3 separate regions of the Homo sapiens genome follow, and regions 2 and 3 are each linked to region 1. Evidence: promoter capture Hi-C in 16 types of primary human blood cells and fetal thymus (Javierre and others, 2016). All regions are on one chromosome and are shown on one strand. The core of a region is centred on a gene start or on the middle of the fragment in contact, and the rest is flanking DNA. Distances in the headings are between cores, read along the strand shown. Region 1 holds the start of CCT8 (chaperonin containing TCP1 subunit 8). Region 2 holds the start of JAM2 (junctional adhesion molecule 2). Region 3 overlaps MRPL39 (mitochondrial ribosomal protein L39).

What was found. Contacts are between HindIII fragments. The CHiCAGO score rates a contact against its expected background, and 5 or more counts as called.
Region 2: a contact is called between the fragment with the promoter of JAM2 here and the fragment with the promoter of CCT8 in region 1, in 1 of 17 cell types (total B cells). The highest score is 5.1, in total B cells.
Region 3: a fragment that was not itself captured here is called in contact with the fragment with the promoter of CCT8 in region 1 in 2 of 17 cell types (total CD4 T cells and naive CD8 T cells); the score reaches 7.4 in total CD4 T cells.

Annotation. Positions count from the first base shown.
Region 1 is chr21:29,071,629-29,075,133 of GRCh38, forward strand. CCT8 (chaperonin containing TCP1 subunit 8) reads right to left here and starts at 2,020. Exons shown (of 15, transcript NM_006585.4): 1 at 1,903-2,020. The coding sequence starts at 1,962. RefSeq lists enhancers at 1,092-2,003, 1,456-1,625, 2,004-2,915, 2,076-2,245. The HindIII fragment of the contact is 10,437 bases long and covers 344-3,505 here.
Region 2 is chr21:25,637,204-25,641,070 of GRCh38, forward strand. It overlaps JAM2 (junctional adhesion molecule 2), which reads left to right and starts at 2,055. Exons shown (of 10, transcript NM_021219.4): 1 at 2,055-2,685. The coding sequence starts at 2,619. RefSeq lists enhancers at 1,688-1,827, 2,565-3,065, 2,968-3,037 and a silencer at 2,048-2,237. The HindIII fragment of the contact is 2,383 bases long and covers 1,864-3,867 here.
Region 3 is chr21:25,593,123-25,596,987 of GRCh38, forward strand. It overlaps MRPL39 (mitochondrial ribosomal protein L39), which reads right to left. Exons shown (of 10, transcript NM_017446.4): 7 at 771-836. Among named protein-coding and RNA genes, the nearest start is that of LINC00515, 12 kb to the left of the region's middle. The HindIII fragment of the contact is 1,697 bases long and covers 603-2,299 here.

The DNA.
Region 1 (3,505 bases), core at 770-3,269:
CACTGACCTCGGCCTCCCCAGTGTTGGGATTACAGGTGTGAGCCACCAACCCCTGCCAATAGCCACTGCTTTAAAAGCATCTTCAGCAATAAGAACTGTTATTCCAGCAATAACACTTAAGTCTGAACTCCTGGCTTACACTCTTGCTTCTTCCCCTCACTCCCCATTCTGTGAGAAACTACCATTTGATCAGATCCCCTCATTCCCATACTTAAGACCCTTCAATGGTTTCCCAACCAGCTTAGGATAAAATGCAAATCCCTTTTCAAGGAAACAAGGCCCTACGTATCCCGGCCCTTGTATGGCTCCTCCTCTGAACTTACCATTCTTCCTTTCTTTGGTAAGCTTCAGCCCTACAACCTGTTGTTGTTGTTGTTGTTTTAAAAAAAAAACAGGTCAAAATCATTCCTTCCTCAGGGTCTTTGTACTAGTTAGTCCCTGAGCCTGGCATTTCCCCCTAAGTAAGAGGTCGGGGGAAACAGCCCAGGCTCAGGGGCTTCTCTCACTAAGCACTGAGCTAAGAGTTCTTCCCTAAACGTCTAAGTGTTCTGTCTATTCCTGATCCTTCTTTTACAGACATTTTTACCTCCTGTCATCCTCTACTATAGTGCAGTTTCTTTCATCATTATTTGGAATTCTCCTTTTATTTAATCATTATTTCTGCCTTAGAAGGACATAAACTCTACGACAAATGGGACTTTTGTCTTTCACTGCAGTTCCTTCAGTACCTATTTATTGAAAGAAATAGCTCAGTGTTCTGTAAAAAACTACTAGCACTGGAATGACAAATAATGTTTTGTGATACACGAGTTTTCCAAAACTGTATTAGTGAAAAAAACCCAAATTGGAAGCTATTATCTCAGCCTGATTTTTTCAAGGGAATCAGCCCATATCATTTTCAAAAGATTATTCCACCAACATTTACCTTGAACCCTGACATTTACTTACTATACCGACATTATTTGAAAAGTGCATCCTACAAACATGAACCTAGTTCTATTAAACTGTTAATGCTCCCCGTACCTCGCATAAAACCTTAAATTCAACCACACTGATCTATTTCTTGAATTAACAAAATCTGGAGGACACACAGAGGAATGCAATTTGAATAGCACAAGAGACAAATTTATCAATAGTGCAGTAAGATATTTTTTAAAACTATGCTACCGAACTAACGTTCAAGAAAAGGCCATTAAACAAAAGTGTTATCTGCACCCCTCTATCACTTATCCTGCAGATTACACAGAACTCAAAGACACCACCTCTTGGTCCAATCTCCATAATTTAAAGACGAAGGAAACAAAACCCAAGAAAGTTACATTTTAGATTAAGCCAGCTAACATAAGTTGGGACCGGAACTCATTTGGCTACAACGCATGGCTTCTGTCAACTAAGCTGAAAGCCGTATGTTTCTCACTGGGAAGCAAGCAACCAAGACCCGGCCCTTTTTCCCACTCTCTTCTCTGGATCGGCTAGTTCTCGTTCTTCCCCATCCTACAACTCGCGAGCTATGTGATAATCGACGTCGCAGTTCTCAAGACAATTTCATCTACGTTATTCAATTTCACCCTCACAACCTCCTTTAAGGGTGACGGGCCTTAGCCCCATTTACGGATGGAGGCAAAACGCACGCGCGGCTTCACATCCGTCCACCTTCAAGGTGTACAATGTCGATCGTGCCGCCGATCCCTCGGCCTTCTCCCGGTCGCGGAAGAAGAGAAGTGCCCGCAGGCTCCGGTGGCCGAGCCCTTCCAAAATCACCTCCCTTTCTGGAATCTTCTCTTCCCCCGGCCGCTGAGCCAGGGCAGCACGCTCAGCCCGTTAGTAGGCCCTCCTACTTCGCCGCGGCCGCCGCAGCCCTATGCTGACGCTCCCACCTCATTCCTTTCCTTCAGCCCTTACTTTCGCTCCCTCCTTGAGCATCTGGGCAAAGCCCGGAGCCTTGGGAACGTGAAGCGCCATGGCCAGCCTGCAGGAAGCAGTTCACGCGACCGCTCGGAAGACCGCGGAGGAAGCGAGGAGCACGCACAGCCTTCTGGGAAAGCAGCGTGGGGCCGCCTCACGCTCTTCCTGGCTCTCCAATTAGCCCACCCTTTCCCTGCCGCCAGGTCTGAAGCATCGCGAGAAGAGCAACCTCTGTGGCCAGAACCAAGCTGACGATCCCCGATCGGGTCGATCGATAGGGCGGGCCCAGGGAGCCCCTCGGGTTTCTGGCTCACGCACGCGCAGACAGCCCAGGCCGTGAGAGGTTGCTCCAGTCTGTGCTCTCTGACCGTAGTCAGTAGTCACGGCGTTAGATTTTTGCGGTTTTTGATCTGGAAGCCACACATCCTTAGCTTAATTTCCACGTATCTTCCAGACCCAGCCACCAACGTCAGGGCAGGTGTGCTTTTTTTTTCCCGAGGCAGAGCATCTGCCCCATCCCCCAAAATTGTCTCTAGGCGTCCGCTCTGTGTTGGGCACCATAGGAAGCGCTGGGAATGCGCACGATAATTAAAGTCGTCACTAAGAGTAATGTAGTACACATCAAGTGCTCAAGTGTGCCATATTCTGTGTGATCTGCTTTACATGCAGTATCTCTGTTAATGGTCAGTCTTAAAAATTAATGAATTGTCGGTTAAAATACCATTTAGTTTTCCTTCCATAAAATGGAGACGATACCATTAAAAATTAAAAATTAAATGGTACTGTCTCTATTTTGTAGAAGGGAAACTGAAGTTCACAAACTGTAAATAATTTTCCCAAGATCACAGAGCTAGTAAATATTAAAGCTAGAATTCCTATCTAGATCAGACTTATTGCAAAATGCCGGTTCTTAACCACTATCTATATTCCTCTTTTCTACTTCTTCCTGGGAATATAAATCCCTTTTACTCTTTTAAGATCAGATATAAATACATATTTATTTATCTGATTTATATATATAATATACACATTTTATATAAATATATCTGATTTATATATGAATTTATAGATAAATATAAATCCCTTTGGCTTGGTGGCATGCACCTGTAGTCTCAGCTGCTTGGGAGGCTAAGGTTGGAGGATCTGCTTGAGCCTGGGAGGTTGAGGCAGCAGTGAGCTGAGATCATGCCACTGCACTCCAGCCTGGGCAAGAGTGAGGCCCTGTCTCAAAAAAAAAAAAAAATTGCAAAAATGTAAATGCCACTGATATGGTTTGGATTTTTGCAAAAATGTAAATGCCACTGATATGTTTGAATTGCCTGCCCAAATATGATGTGGAATTATAATCCCCAGCTGTTCTTGTGATAGTGAGTGACTTCTCATAAGACCTGGTTGTTTAAAAGTGTGTGGCACCTCCCCACTCTGTCTCTTCCTCCTCCTCCAGCCTTGTAGGATGTGTCTGCTTCCCCTTCACCTTCCACCTTGATTGTCAGCTTCCTGAGGCTTCCCCAGCCATGCTTCCTGTACCGCCTGTGGAACTGTGAGCCAATTAAACCTCTTTTCTTTATAAATTACCCAGTCTCAGGTAGTTCTTTATAGC
Region 2 (3,867 bases), core at 805-3,304, 3.4 Mb before region 1:
AAACATGGCGAAACCCCATCTCTACAAAAAATACAAAAATTAGCCTGCATGGTGGCACATGCCTGTAGTCCCATCTACTGGACTGAGGAGGCTGAGGCAGGAGAATCACTTGAACCTGGGAGGCGGAGGTTGCAGTGAGCTGAGATTGCACCACTGTACTCCAGCCTGTGTGACAAAGTGAGACTCTGTCTCAAATTAAAAACAAAACAAAAAAAATGTATATAGCCACTTAGATCTATAGGCTACCATATTGGACACCACAGTTCTAAAATATGAGTCTTTTCTTATCTCATTGCTTTCAAAAAGCTCATTAGCTGTAGGATGAGGTCTAGACAGTAGCGTGAATGCTCTTCGTACTCTAACCTCCCCTTCAGTTTCTACCACCACCACCACCTACCTCACTATCCCGATCCCACATACACTTTAGTACTGTAGAACCTTGCTTTTTCTAAATAAACCATAATTTTTCAATCTCCTAGCTCTGGATCCTGCTGTTTCCTCTATGTAGAATGCCTCTCCTTTATGTCCTTCCCTTCAGAATTTGACCCATTTTTCAAGGTTTAATAAAGAAAGCCCTGGCCCCACTCCCAACAAAAGGAACAGCCCCTTATCATGGACCTTGGACAAGCCATTTAGTGTCTCTCCGCCCAGTTTTCTCATCTGCAAAGTGGGAATGATAACATTTCCTCTTTTATGGAGTTGTTGGGGGATTAGATATTGCGTTATTCAGACTCCATCACTGAGAAAGCATGCAATAAAAATAGCTGTTATTATTTTCTGTCCTCCTGTAACATTTACCATGTGGTATCAGGCATCTTTCCTGATAAGACTCTGTCTCCCCTCAAGACTGTGAGCTTGTTAGCAAGAAAGCCTCTATCTTGTTCATGGTTGTCCTTCAGCATCCAGCACATTGTTGCCATTTGTCAAATGCCTTGGCTGGGTGGCAAATAAATAACTTAGTCAGTTACTCACATAGGATTGCATAGAATTTTTTTAAGTATGACATTTTTGTGTATATTTTTAGGGAGGAGTAAAAGACATATAGCTGTAGCAAGAATTAGAAAAAAGAAGATGCCAACAACTTTTCTTTTTAAGCATCAAATCCTTCTCATTACTGCCCAGAAAAACTGGCATAAGCTGTTGTTAAATCTGTGCCCCTTCTCCTCGGTTGACTGGAGTACGAGTTTTAACATTTTGCCATTTTGACTTTCCTTTCTGGGTCCCCTGGGTCCTCTCCTCCCACCCCCTCCCTGGGTACTAAGTTTTCATCACTGTCACCACGGCAACAGCAAGGATGCCTCATTCCTCACAGTTCTGCACAGCTAAACTCTGGTCGCCTTTGTCCACTGAGCTAGCTGAATTCTTTTTAAATACACCACTAAATCAACTATCTGCTGTACAGAACTTCATCCATTATTCAACCTTTAAAAAAAAACAAAAACAAAAACAAACAAAAAAACAAAAGAAAAAAACTGATGTATACTAATTTCTTCTCCTGGGAATGGCCTTTTTCCAGACCTGCCAATACTCTTGAATACACCATACATTTTTGGTCCCTAGGAACAAATATAAAAATTGCCAGTGTACGTGCGTCCAATGTAAGTGTGGTGCAATTTTAAAGCACGCAACAGAGCATTCATAATGGGTTTCCCTTTTAAAAGCACAGTAGACCAAAAATAAACCTGACAAAGGGCAGCTGTAGAGTTTTAACACGTGGAAAACTCCACAAGCAGCAGTTATGTAACTTGAAAGAAACATGATAAATATTTCACACCATTAGATGAACTTCCAACTCTGACACTGAAAAAAAAGCAAAGAACAAGAACGCGAGACAAATGCACCTCAAATCTCCAAGGAGCAAAAAGCTTAAACTGAGAAGGGACCAAGGCTGTACTAAAATCTGAGACCTGACTTCCAGCACGAGTCTTGATTGCTTTTTTTTTTCTCGAGTTCGAGGCGGAGCCCGCGAACCCCATCTCCTCAGAGCGCCACCCCCTCAGCTTCGCCCGTTGGGCAGAATTTTCCAAATATCTCCACCCCTAGGCTGAAAAGCCAGAAAGAAGTTTTGAGCCAACGAGGGGAAGAAAGGAGTTGGGGCAAAACAGGAGGCGTTTCCCTACCCGCATACATCCCCGTCCCCGAGACACCCAATCCCCCCACCCCCAGCCTGCCCGCGCCTCCCGCCCCCAGCTCCTCGCCCTGGGGACAGCTGGCAGCCCCGCGCGGACCAGACACAAAGCCGATCAATCCCGGAGGCGTGGGGGCGGAGGGACGACCCGCCGGGGCTTTCCCGGGCGCTGCTCTCCTCCTGCTGCCCCCTCGCTAGGACCCGGCGGACGCCTCGTCTGGTTTTCACGCCCTCTAGCCCCTACCCCCACACCCCCAAAACAGAACAGACCCCCATCCCTGGGCTGGAGGACCCGCCTCTTGGCAGCCAGCTGAGAAGGCGCCCCGGGGAGGGGGAAACTGACATCCCATCTAGAGCCGTCCCTCCTCTTCCTCCCCTCCCGACTCTCTGCTCCTTTCCCGCCCCAGAAGTTCAAGGGCCCCCGGCCTCCTGCGCTCCTGCCGCCGGGACCCTCGACCTCCTCAGAGCAGCCGGCTGCCGCCCCGGGAAGATGGCGAGGAGGAGCCGCCACCGCCTCCTCCTGCTGCTGCTGCGCTACCTGGTGGTCGCCCTGGGCTGTAAGTTGCTCGGGTTCCTCTACCCTTCCTGCCTGGACCAGCCTGCCCCCACCCTCCAGCCCCCCACGGGGCGCTGGCTGACAGTGTCTGGGCGGCTCTGGGCCGAGGTCGCCGCGGGGCGTCTGACCTTGCGCCCAGGCGAGCGGGAAACCCAGGGTGCCCGCGAGCGGACGCTGGGAGCAAGGGAGCGCGAGGTCGTGGGTTTCTTGTGAATTGCGTCTGATTTTGTCAGTTCTAGATACAGAAAATTAAGGGTTCCCACTAGCAGGTTCTCATCTGTTTGCAAAGTTGGGGTAAGTTTTCAGACAGAGGGACGTGATTCGAATGCAAAACTCACTACCCACTGGTAAGATGCTAAGACCCCAAGAAAGATGGCATCACTGGGAGGCGGGCGCCGGCCACACTTTGAGTCCCCGGGGAGGGGGCAGCGTCCGCGTGGTCTGGGCTCTGTAGCGTCCCAGCTGAGCCGGCGATATGCAGCGCACTTGTGGGGCGGAGGTGGAGGGAATTCGTGGCTGCTGAGCCAGAATTACTTTTATCCTCTCCACCTGCACATCTACATTCACTTAGAGAAGTCTGGTCTGGGGACTCTAGCCAGCTGCTCTGTCCTCAGGGGACATCCAACGGGACGATTGTTAGAAAGATTCAGAAGCCACATGATCCAGTAGCTGGGGAGACGTCCCAAAGCCAATTTCACCGGATGATTTTAAACAGGATTTTCACGGATTCTGGACTCATGAGATTTGAAATCCTGGGAACGTTGCCGTTATTTTGTTTTCTTCGCGTTAACTTTTTAGGAAAATGGAGGAAATTACAATAGACTAAGCAATGCAGTTCTACTTTTGCTTTTTCTTTTTTCTCTCACCTTTTTTGTTTTGCTTTTTTCCCTTCCTTCCTTCCTCCCTTCCTTTCTCTTTCTTCTTTCTTTCTCTCTCTCTTTCTTTCTGTCTCTCTTTCTTTCTTTTGTAAAATGAGTTATTGTTGCTATTCACGTTCTGGTAAAGTAACACTTATAATACTTAACCTGCGGGACGAGTGTCTAATACCACAATACAATGATATTTTCTCACGCCCTCGCTGCCCAAGTGATCATCGCACAGCTCAAGTGATGTGAGCCACGTCCCTTTGTGGAGGAGGAAGGTGCACATTGTCTCAGGCAAGGGACATGTACTGACCAATATT
Region 3 (3,865 bases), core at 201-2,700, 3.5 Mb before region 1:
TCAAGTAAAGAGGCTAAAACTTTGAAAATTAAATCAAATGAACCATTTTCTTAATTAGCATTGATATAGGTTTTAAGGTCTTTAAGAGTCACGCAACACATCATGCTATCAAGCTGATCCAATTGCCTAAAACCGATCATCTACAACCTTACAATAACCCATGTAACGAAGCTGAGAATTCAGTGTGTAGGACAGATTGTGTTCAGAAACAAAGGGCAGTTTCTAGAGGAAAAAAGTGAAGTCCAATTCATAAAAACAGGAGGCTGAGAAAATGGATCCAGGTCATGAAGTCATTTCTGCAGAATGCATTGTCTTGGGACTTGCTCCCCATGGGAGAACGTCATCATAAGCAGTGGACCTTTCTCATCCATGCTTGAGAAAGCACATTCTGGCTTAACTTACATGTATCTTAAGTAATTACTAGTTAGTCAGTATTCATATGAATTACGATGTTCAATTCATCACAATGACTATCTTGCCCAGTTTCAAAACACCTAAAAATTACATTCTTAAACAGTGGTTTTCAACTCAAAATTAAATAAAAATAGCAAACAATAAAATGAGGATTATAGAAACCACAAGTGTTCCTGAAGATAATTTAAAGCTTCCATTTACCACCATAACAAAACAATGAACGAAGCAACCAAAAATAAGGTAATAAGAACAAAATAAGACACAAATTCATCTTTTTTGGTCATATGCTTCATTCAGATAACAATAAAGCTAAGCCTTACTCTAACATAGCAGCCAGTTTTTAGACTTTTACTTACCTGTGTAGCTTGACTATTCTCTCAGGGTTCTGAGATGCCTTCTCTTCTATGAAATCTACTTTGTACCTGAAAAGCAGCAAAGAAAAAAACATTTTTTTAACTCAAAATATGTAAAAAGGTGTTTAAAGATACCTCCCTTTCTCTTCCTCTTCAGCCATACTTTCTGAGAGTAGGTTACACTTGGAACCTCCCTTTAATCTGGCCACAGCCCCATGACTCTGCCAAACTGTTCTCAACAAAGTCACAGACCTGCTTGGTGTCAACCCAGTGGACATTTTTTGGTCCTCATTTTCTTAATACCAATGCTCACCTCCACTTCTCAATGTGTTCTTTCTTTCCATTTTTATTTCTTTGTTCTTTTTTTTTTTTTTTTTTTTGAGGCAGGGTCTTACTCTTATCACCCACCCTGGAATGCAGTGGCATAATTATAGCTCACTGCAGTCTCAAACTTCGGGCTCAAGCGACCCTCCTGCCTCAGCCACCCAAGTAGCTGGGACTACAGGTGTGAGCCACCATGCCGGGCTAACTTTTTTTGGTAAAGATAGGGTCTTGCCATGTTGCTCAGGCTGGTCTCAAACTCCTGGTGTCAAGCAATCCTCCTGCCTCAGTCTCCCAAAATGCTGGGATTATAGCGATGAACCACCACATCCAGCCTCAAAGTGCTCTTTCCATGGGTATCAGTGGCATTCCTTACTGCTTGTTATTTTACATCTCTGGCCACTCCTGTCTTTCTCTACCCTTTGAGAATTCTATCCTACACCCTCTTTTCACGCTAAGCATCCTCCCTAGGTCAGCCCCTTGAGCTACAACTTATGTAGTTGTATGTCCTATATCTCTGCTTCTAATCTACCTACCTCTTCTGACCACCAAACTGTATATCCAAGACCCATTTGGACATCCTCTAGGATGTTCCACAAGCACCTTACCCTGAAATTTGCAAACTGCACAAATTACCACCTCTTTCCCCGCCCAAACTTGTTCTTCCTCCTGAATTTCCTGTCTTAGTACGATACCACCAACCACCCAGGTGTCCATGTGAAAAACCTGGGAGATTTCCTTGATTCCTTTCTCCTACCATATCTCCTTTATTCAATTCATTATCAAGTTGTCAATTTGACTGCCCAGTATCTCTCAAATCTACCCAATTCTGTCAGTATAGCTAAAGGCACAGATGAAACTGCACAGCCCAGGTTCAAACCATGACTTTACCATTTACTATTGAGAGCTTTGTCTGTTTACCTCAGGGTGCTAAACAAGTAATATGTGTAGGTGCACCACAGGTGTATGCACAATTATGTGGCAAAGTTAGGGAACACTGGTTTATGCAAAAACACCCACTGACTGCTACAGTCCCCCAGGCACTAATAAGGGTGCCAATTCCCTTGAATACTTATCCCTCCTGACCCACCTCCAAGAGATGCTCCTGTCCCCTGAGAGTCAAAGCCACAAAAAGGTCCCACCCTTACTCCTGCAGCAGAAGGACTCAATCACTGACCCACCTTCAATGAACCAACTCTTTTGTCCTATCAAGCTTCCTCCAGAATTATCCCCTTCCTCCTACCACACACTCAACTAAGTTACAAAAGTCCCAGAAGCCGCTACCAGTCCTTGACAGTTAGAGGAATGGGAAATCTCAATGTGTACTGAATGGAAGTCAAAAGTACACTGTCCAGTAAAGTACCATGGTGCACTTAAATGTGATTAGTACTAGTTAAAATGTGCCTTAAGTGTAAAACACATACCAGGTTCTGAAGATTTAGTGAAAAAGAATATAAAATAACATCAATATTTTAATATTGATTACACTGAGTAACATTTTAGATGTATCATTTAAATAAAATCATTAAAATTAACTTCAACTTTTGTTTTGACTTTTTTTCAATGCAACTACAGAAAATTTCAAATTATACAGATGTCTCATATTATATTTCTTTTGGGCAGCATGTGCCTAGACTTTTGTCACAGAGAGTGACTTCACGTGTTCAGATAGTCCAAAGAATTTTCTTGTCGAATCAATGCTATAAATGGTGGTTTGGTTCTACAATACTATCTGTACTCTAGTTAAAACAGTACATTACAACTGGTTTCTAAATCCACTGGTTCCAGGACACGCTAAAAATGTTTCAAGAAAAAGTGTTTCATGGGCAAATATATTTGGGAAATTTTCAATGTCCACTTTGGGAGACCGTTGAGTGCGATGAGTAAAAATTTTTTTTTTTTTTTTGAGACGGAGTCTCGCTCTTTCGCCCAGGCCGGACTGCAGTGGCGCCACCTAGGCTCACTGCAAGCTCCGCCTCCCGGGTTCACGCCATTCTCCTGCCTCAGCCTCCTGAGTAGCTGGGACTACAGGCGCCCGCCACCACGCCCAGCTAATTTTTTGTATTTTTAAAAGAGACGGGGTTTCACCGTGTTAGCCAAGATGGTCTCGATCTCCTGACCTCGTGATCTGCCCGCCTCGGCCTCCCAAAGTGCTGGGATTACAGGCGTGAGCCACCGCGCCCAGCCGAGTAAAATTTTTTAAGCCACTGTTCTTCAAACTCAGCTTAACACAGTACATGGTTTCACATGTCAATTAACATCCTATAGAAGAATACTATAAGACAGACTGCTTTGAGAAATGCCAAGCTATAAAGTATGTGTCAAAAACACACTCATAACCCAATATATTTACGATAACCTATCCCTATGAGAATTTGTAATTCAACTTCTATATACCTAAAGAAATTCTAATCAGTAAACTTTCACAATTCTTAGGTGCATATTTTGGCTTCAGACTCTGTTATTTTTTTTTTTTTACAGCACAGGTTTCTCTTTCTAGTTAGTTCTAATATTGTATTAGATTAATGTTAAAATTTAGCTCATGTTCTTACAACTGGTAGTAGAAGGTGAACTGAAAGTTTTCTGAGAACTGAGAAGCCAGGCAGGAATTAAAATGTTAAAGAAAATCCATCAAATGAATAATTCACATGCAGAAGATTAAGACCTGGCTGTGTAAACATTTTACTTCAGCTGTCAGCCCCCTCCCAAACTGCTTGCATTTTCAATCTTATCAGTGTCATTTTAAGTGTGGAGGGGTAGGAGAGAAACACTGCCAA